Linked DNA regions of Homo sapiens: region 1 is linked to region 2. Evidence: promoter capture Hi-C in 16 types of primary human blood cells and fetal thymus (Javierre and others, 2016). All regions are on one chromosome and are shown on one strand. Each heading gives the region's core, a stretch centred on a gene start or on the middle of the fragment in contact. The rest is flanking DNA. Distances are from core to core; before and after follow the strand shown. Region 1 overlaps GDE1 (glycerophosphodiester phosphodiesterase 1). Region 2 holds the start of RPS15A (ribosomal protein S15a).

Region 1 (4,013 bases), core at 750-3,249, 720 kb after region 2:
TCTTCAGTAAATACAAAACAAGGACCCCCCCCAAAACAAACAAACAAAAAAAACAGAGAGAGAGAGAGACAGAACCTGCAAGTTTTAAGATTTACAGTTGCCGGCAGGGCATAGTGGCTCACACCTGTAATCATTTTGGGAGGCCGAGGCAGGCAGATCACCTGAGGTCAGGAGCTCGAGACCAGCCTGGCCAACATGGCAAAACCCCGTCTCTACTAAAATACAAAAAAAATTAGCCAGGCATGGTGGTGTGTGCTTGTAATCCCAGCTACTCAGGAGGCTGAGGCAAGAGAATTGCTTGAACCCGGGAGGCAGAGGTTGCGATGAGCCGAGATCATACCACTGGGCGACAGAGCAAGACTCCGTCTCAAAAACAAACAAAAAAAGATTTACGATTGTAACACGCCGATCTTACTTGGGTCCTATTCGAATGAGCAATTTATGAAAAACAACCATTTATGACATTTCCGAGACAAGTCAAAATTTATACACTGGATATTTGATGATATGAATAATTTATTGTTAATAATTTTTAGATGGGACAATGGCATTGTGGCTATGTTTTTAAAAAGGCATCACTAGGCTGGTTACTGTGGCTCATGCCTGTAATCCCAGCACTTTGAGAGGCTGAGGTGGAAGGATTGCTTGAGCTTAGGAGTTGGAGAACTGCCTGGGTAATACAGGGAGACCCTGTCTCTACAAAAAATAAAAATAAAAAATTAGCTGGGCGTGGTGACGTGCGCCTGTGGTCCCAGCTACTTGGAAGGCTGAGGCAGGAGGATCATTTGAGCCTGGAAGGTCAAGAGTGCAGTGAGCTGTGATCACACCACTGCACTCCAGCCTGGGAAACTGAGGGAGAACCCGTCTTTTAAAATAAATAAATAAATAAATAAATAAATAAATAAATAAATAAAATGGCATCACTTTTTAAAGATTCTTAATGCAATTTTATGGATGGAATAAGATTTGCTTCAAAATAACACTGGGGAGGATCAATGGGGTTATGGGTGAAATGAGCTGGATCACAGTTAAAGGGGGGGTACACTACTACTTTATTTTATGCATGTTTTAGATTCTCCATAATTAAGAATTTATTTTATGAAGGTATGTTCTGCTGTTAGTTGGTGAGAAGTAGGGGCTACATAATTCTTTTCTGTTGTGAGAATTTTACTACAGTAATCTGAGTGAGCCTATAAACAACATAAAAGAAGGGGCAAAAGAGGAATAATGGCATTCTGTAAGGGGTATGAGTACATTCCCCTTCTGGAATTTCTCTGGTTAATTTAAAAGAGGAGCTTCTCAACTGTGACCCTGATGCAGTTCAATTTAATAGGCATCTATCCTGTGCTTACGCAGCCCATTGCAATTATCTACACCAGCTCACCTAATATGTACAAGAAAAATCCCGAATGTTACCTTGTAGATAACTTCTGGCAAGAAAGAACAGACCACACTATTATTATACAGTTGAGGAAATTCCATATACATTTTCTTTAGAGCCTCAGTAGCCTGTAAAATAAAGAGATTCATATATTTAAAATTGATTAAAATGTGATAGATAGCCCCAGCCAATAACTATCACATATTAAGTACAACCCTATGGAATAAAACAGAAGTTTACTAGAAATGGAGGTACTGAAAGTATTGGTAGAGTCTATTATCCACTGGGATGCATTTTAAACTCACACCAGCAGCAAACAAGGAAGAAGGTGGAGTACTGCTGCTTTACTCCCTCTGAGGGCCTCACCCCTTTTGGAATACTTTTGAAAAGTGTGGTAAGCCGTAGGTCAGATGAGGCCAGAGGCAAAATTTTCCTTGCCTTATACCCTAGTTTAGCCACTATGAAAAGTCCTTTCATACCCACAGCTCTATCACTCTGTGCCTTTTCTAAATGAAACATGAGCCAGCCAGTCTGGGAACTACAGAGGATAGATTTCTCAGTCCAGGGGACTGAGAGGACGCATTACCCATCACCAATATGGAGGGAGAAGTAATGGGGCAAGGGTAGGAGGGACTGGGAAGAGTTAAGGGGCTCCCAATTCTTCCCAAGGTGAACAGAAGTTTCTTTTTATAGTAGTCTAGCTACGAAATGAAGAAGACATGATAGAATTTAAGTATTATTTGGTAACCCCTAGTGAAGTGACATCAATAGCAGCTAACAACAAGAAAGTCACCAGCCATGTGGGACGCAATGCTGCTGCTGCATAATTTGTGAAACACTGCTAATTTTTGGAATGTTACACATACCCCTAACCAAATATGATGAGCAAAATGCATTCCCCCACCAAAATAAAAAAGGACACAAATTATCCATGTCATGCCTCCTCTTCGCTAATGCAACTGAAGGCAAGCTATAGAAAGCATTTTTTTTTCTGTTTGAACAAAGACATGCACTGTAAACTCTTAGCATTTACATTATTTAATTCTCACAACAACCTTATGTGGTAACTGCTTTTAGTATCCCCATTTTACCCATGAAGAAACTGAAGCTCATCAAAGTTAAGGTTACCCTGTAGTAAGAGCTCAGTCAAGGACTGTTGGAGTCCCAAGCCCATGATTTTGGCCACTGTGCTCTACTAGCTCCACTTTGTTGCCTACACTTGTGCCTTTCTACTACCATCTTGGTGAATTAGGTCACTATGTTCTACCCAGTCTTGGCTGAACACCCATGAGCACCCATTCAGAAGACTCAAATAGCTAGATTTTCTTTTTTAAATGTCTACTTCTTTTTAAAAAGTATTCTAAGAGAAGCCAGGCGTGGTGGCTCACACCTGTAATCCCAGCACTTTGGGAGGCCAAGGTGGGCGGATCACTCGAGGCCAGGAGTTTGAGACCAGCCTGGCCAACATGGCAAAACCCCATCTCTACTAAATATACAAAAATTAGCCGGGTGTGATGGCACATGCCTCTAATCTCAGCTGCTTGGGAGGCTGAGGCAGGAGAATTGCTTGAACCCCGGAGGCAGAGGTTGCATTGAGCCGAGATCGCGCCAATGCACTCCAGCCTAGGTGACAGAGTGAGACTCTGTCTCAAAAAATCTAAGAGAATAAGCATAAAAGTCAGTATACCATGGGTGAAATGTAGGACCTATCAGGGTTCCCAAATGTGGGCTGCAACATCAACAATGAGCACCTGAGGTGCTCATTAAAAATACATGTTCCTTGAGCCCACCCTAGACATTTTCAGAATCTCTTCCCTAGGGAGAATGGCCCAGGAATTTATATTTTAAAATAGGTACAGGTGATTCTAACGCAGACCAATTGGAAAACCTAGACGTATACAACTATCGGTTTACTAGAATAATAAATTAGTTACCATTATCTTCCTTCTTCAAAAATAGGAATTAACTGTTAATAAAATTAGAGTGTATACTTAGGCTCCACATTTCAGGTTTTTTTTTTTTTTTTGAGACGGAGTCTCGCTCTGTCACCCAGGCTGGAGTACTACTGGCGCAATCTCGGCTCAGTGCAACCTCTGTCTCCCCGGTTCAAGCGATTCTCCTGCCTCAGCCTCCCGAGTAGCTGGGATTACAGGTGCCCGCCACCAAGTCCAGCTAATTTTTGTATTTTTAGTGGAGACAGGGGTTTCACCATGTTGGCCAGGCTGGTCTCGAACTCCTGACCTCAGGTGATCCACTCCCAAAGTGCTGGGATTACAGGTGTGAGCCACTGCACCCGGCCCATTTTGGGTTTTAACAACTGGTTTCAATGATATCATGGGATTAATTAAAAAAAAAAATTGGCATCATCAGAATTCTCAACCAGTAGATGGCCCTTACCGATTATTAATATTGCTAGGGGAAAAATACTCAAGTTGCCCAAATGGGGAAAAAAGTACTTGCACTTGAAAAGCTGGTTATAAGAGAACAAATGTAATCAGAATCATATCTTCCCACTGATTTTCACTGTAATAATATGTTCTTATGAGTGTAAGTGCAGGCCCTAAAATTTAAGCAAAATTTTATCTAGGAATGTCAAATACATTTGAAGAAAATAAATGATTTTCTGATAAAA
Region 2 (4,413 bases), core at 553-3,052:
CAGGCTGGAGTGCAGTGGCCGATCTCGGCTCACTGCAACCTCCACCTGCTGGGTTCAAACAATTCTCCCTGCCTCAGCCTCCAAAGAGCTGGGACTACAGGCGCCTGCCACCACGACCGGCTGATTTTTGTTTTTGTTTTTTGTTTTTTTAGTAGAGACGGGGTTTTGCCATGTTGGCCAGGCTGGTCTCGAAATGAGCTCAGGAGTCCTTTCAATGACTTAGATTCATTTAGCTCCCAAACACCTAGCAGAGCTCCTTTTTCCAGCAGTCCTACTCTAAGTGACTCTTCAGCAGTTTCAGACTATCCCCTCCTCCACAGCCCACAGGTCAATTGCATTCGTTCTCAGGTATGACAGACATACTTTGGTCCCCCATAATTAATTTCTACAGGACTGATTTCTTAGAGAGTCTCACATGAAAACATAAAACACAGCGGCAGCAGACTTACCATGCTTCATCATCACAGTGAGAAACCGGACGATGACTTTGGAGCACGGCCTAATAAGCACCTGGCGTTTGCCTCTCTTTTCGGCATTGTTGATACTCTTGAGAGCATCTGCCAGGACATTCATGCGCACCATTGTGGCTGTTCAAGGAAGACAAAACAGGAGGTTTTACTGGCATTGCCAACATCAACAGACACCAACCATTACACTGCGGAAGTATCCTTTCCTTTCTGGCCCCACCTTGGCGAAGTTTTCTCAAGTCTAAGCAGGCTGCTTCTCCATTTCCCACCACCCAGGAAAATTCCTATTTACTACGGTTGTTGAAAACAGGTTATCGGGACGTCAGCCTGCACATTTTGAAACTCATTCATTCACTAACCACTCTTCTTCGAATCGTGCCACACACCAACGTCTGGAGATAATAAAATGTGGGACAAAATCCACTTGACACAAGACAACGTGAGAACTGGCAGAAACTGCCAGCTACCGGAAGGAAAACATCGGGTATAGTCGATCAGTGATTCAGAACAGAAGCAGAGTATCATCGGCAACATTTTCCAAATTGCTGAAAATCAGCAGATTCCATACTATTAACATTGTACTTTAAATCAGTTCACTCTCACCTACAATGAACACATCTAACTATTAAACATCCATCTTCGTGCCATTTAAAATTGCGTCCAACAGCAAGAGCCACAGTGGCAAACAGAAACATTTTACATGCTTGTCAGACTGGACTCTCTTCTAATGGGCAAGAACCGCACACTACACTGAAGTTTTGAAAGACCAAAGTGCCAATAGTAAAGAGTAGAACTTAAATTCCTTAAGTTCAAAAGTGTCTAAAGAAAAACTCTGCGGCCCAGAAGATCCAAGTTGGCACCCAGCAAACTGCCAACCCCGGCACGATGCAGCTTTTACCTGCTGGGTGGCCTCAGCCTCCCAAGCTCCCAGCGCGGCCGCAGCAGTGAGAAGCTGCACGGCCCACCAGCCCCGATGTTGCCCGCCGCCCGGGGCCAAGGCGCTGCCTCAGCACTAAAGGGAGATCCAGACGCTGCGGCCCGAACCGGAGCTACCGCCTAGCTGGGCAGTCGAAGGCTCCGGCTCCCGCCCGCGCTGCGGCCTGCACCCCACGGACCGGGATCCCCTGAGTGCACAGTCTGGGGCGCCCAGCCATGGCTCTCCTCTATGCCTGTCCAGGAACCGGCAAGGCCAGGATCCTCGGCCAAGGTGGGGACCAGCCTCCTCGCAGGACACCGAGACCGAACCTTAGATTGCAGGATGGCGCCGATGGCAGACGGATGAAATTGGAGCTCTCAGAGAGTGCTACTCACCGGCGCGGAAAGATGGCGGAAAGAGGACGGGAGGGGAGAGCGCACGGAGTTATGGGAAGCGGGAGAGCTATCGCGAGACTTTCAAAGGCCCGGCAAAAACAAGGACCGCCTAGGAGAAGGACGAGGGTGAGGGAAAGGCGGAGCCTCCTCAGGGGTTGGCAGTTGAGAGTCGATGGAATCGACCTCCCCCGGTGGGGCCTGGGAGAGGCAAGGTGAGCCGTTCGTTGGAGGTTCGTCTACATTTTTTTTTTTTTTTTGAGACAGTTTCGCTCTTGTAGCCCAGACTGGAGTGCAGTGGCGTGATCTCGGCTCACTGCAACCTGCGCCTCCCGGGTTCAAGTGATTCTCCTGCCTCAGCCTCCTGAGTAGCTGGAACTACAGAGATGCGCCACCACGCCCGGCTAATTTTTGTATTTTTAGTAGAGACGAGGTTTCCCCAAGTTGGCGAAGATGTTCTTGATCTCCTGACCTTGCGATCCGCCCGCCTCGGCCTCCGAAAGTGCTGGGATTACAGGCGGGAGCCACCGCGCGGGCCTTAATTTTTATTTTAGTTTACTTTTGATAAGGAGTCTCGCTCTGTCGCCCAGGCTGGAGTCCAGTGGCGCGATCTTGGCGCACTGCAGCCTCCGCCTCCCGGGTTCAAGCGGTTCTCCTGCCCCAGCCTCCAGAGTACCTGGGATTACAGGCGCCCGCCATCACACCCGGCTAATTTTTGTATTTTTAGTAGAGACGGGGTTTCACCATGTTGGCCAGGCTCGTCTCAAACCCCTGACATCAAGTGATCTGCCCACCTCGGCCTCCCAAAGTGTTGGGATTACAGGCGTGAGCCACCACACCCGGCTAAAAATTTTTTTTTAATTAAAAAGTTAAGTTCAGACAAAAGTCACCCAACAGTTGTTTACTGAGCACCCATGTACCAGACGCTAGCAAGGCCCTGGGGTACGAGGTGCCCACACAGGCACCATTTAGCCAGTTCTGTCCCTGCCGGTTCTTCCAGCTTCGTCCTCTCTCACACGTCAATGCCCCTGCTCATTCGTTGCATTTCCTCTTCCCTCTAGCATGGTACCTGGATATTTGCTAAATAAAACTTAAACCTTTTATTTTTGTTCTTTTTTAAAATTTTTCCTAGACAGGGTCCTGCTCTGTTGCCCAGGCTAGAGTGCAGGGGTACACTCAGCTCAATGCAACCTCAAACTCATGGACTCCAGTGAACCTCCTGCCCAGGTCTCCCAAAGTGGTGGGATTACAGGTAGGGTACCTTATAGACATCTAAGGACCACACAGGGTACTTCATTAATCAGATTCATAAATCCAATCATAAATATTATATTGGCTAAGTTATAAAGAAAGTGAGACATGAAGATTCCAGCTTTTTTTATTTTTTCCCCTTTTACACAAAACAAAGTAGAAGAAATAATACAGGATTAAAACTGCAAAAGTAGTTAATCAGTAGAATATGTATGCACACAAAAAATCCAGATAGGAAGACAGGCTTATTTACAATGAAAGTAAGGTAAAATTAACGTAGTTTTCTTATGAAATAATAAAAAAAAATCAAACATATGCTACAATGGGCACCACTGTTCACAGCAATATTAAAGAGGAGAAAACAACACTTATTTAATAGGGACAGATATACCACAAGGTACAACATCAGTGCAATAAATTCACAAAACTATATTACAGCTAGTTAATCAGTTTAAGAATTGTTCCCGTCAGTCACATTTTTTGGCCCTCAGAAGTTCATTCCTAAAGATTTCAACTACTCTAAATTTCTAGCTACCAAGAAGTTAAGAATGATTATAAGAAGCTTTCCAAGGAGTTATGAAATCTTTGTAGACCAGAGGCCAACTATCATCACCTCAAGTCTGCTCTCACCAACAGCCCTTGTATTTTTCAGGGAGAAATCTCTAGGAAAAAAGTCAGACACCAGTGTAGTCACTATCTCCCATGTCAAACCTAGGGGACTAAAATGGTCAGTATTACCATAAAATGATAATTTTGAGGTTTACCTTAAAAGGCTTATTCTGGTCTCAAAAATTAGATAAGATTATCTTCTACTGAAATGAATATTGACTAAACATAGAAGACTGCTGTCCTTTTGCCAGTCTTAGAGTGAAAGTCATAGACATGAGTCTTAACCTACTGTATACTATAGCTAATGTCAGCTGAAAATCTGAAATTAAAAGCATGCTAGAAATCCTAAATGCAATCTTTTGGAAGTCTGCTATTAAAAAGCCTTTAAGGATTTACTAACTTCGAGTCTAAGTGCAAGGGGACGAAAGCTTAAGCCTGTCAGACATTCCTTTTCTTGGACAAAAAGATCAAAGTTTCCTACAAATTGCTAAGCTTTGCACAAGGGAGAAGCCTACATGTACTAGTGCATGGAATCAGTTTCATCTTATTTCATGGGGACTCTTCTCCCACTGGAAAGAAACAGAATGAGGAATGAATCTTAATTGGTCTCTTCATCAGAAGTGGTAAACTTGGTCTCTATATTCACGAAGTCAGACAGTTTTTTAAGCAGACTGTGGAAGCAGACAGAACCAGCTTCCTGTAGCCACAGACCACTACATGGTATCTAAGCTAAAGCAAAGATGAACAATTATCCAGATTCACTTGAACTGTACTAAAG

Evidence for each region. Contacts are between HindIII fragments. The CHiCAGO score rates a contact against its expected background, and 5 or more counts as called.
Region 1: a contact is called between a fragment that was not itself captured here and the fragment with the promoter of RPS15A in region 2, in 2 of 17 cell types (neutrophils and fetal thymus). The highest score is 11.8, in neutrophils.

What each region holds. Positions count from the first base shown.
Region 1 is chr16:19,506,271-19,510,283 of GRCh38, forward strand. It overlaps GDE1 (glycerophosphodiester phosphodiesterase 1), which reads right to left. Exons shown (of 6, transcript NM_016641.4): 4 at 1,417-1,509. Among named protein-coding and RNA genes, the nearest start is that of GDE1, 14 kb to the right of the region's middle. The HindIII fragment of the contact is 4,234 bases long and covers 1-4,013 here.
Region 2 is chr16:18,788,532-18,792,944 of GRCh38, forward strand. RPS15A (ribosomal protein S15a) reads right to left here and starts at 1,803. Exons shown (of 5, transcript NM_001019.5): 1 at 1,713-1,803; 2 at 450-587. The coding sequence starts at 582. ARL6IP1 (ARL6 interacting reticulophagy regulator 1) reads right to left here. Exons shown (of 6, transcript NM_015161.3): 6 at 3,138-4,413. RefSeq lists enhancers at 756-1,473, 1,411-2,040. The HindIII fragment of the contact is 4,087 bases long and covers 1-3,586 here.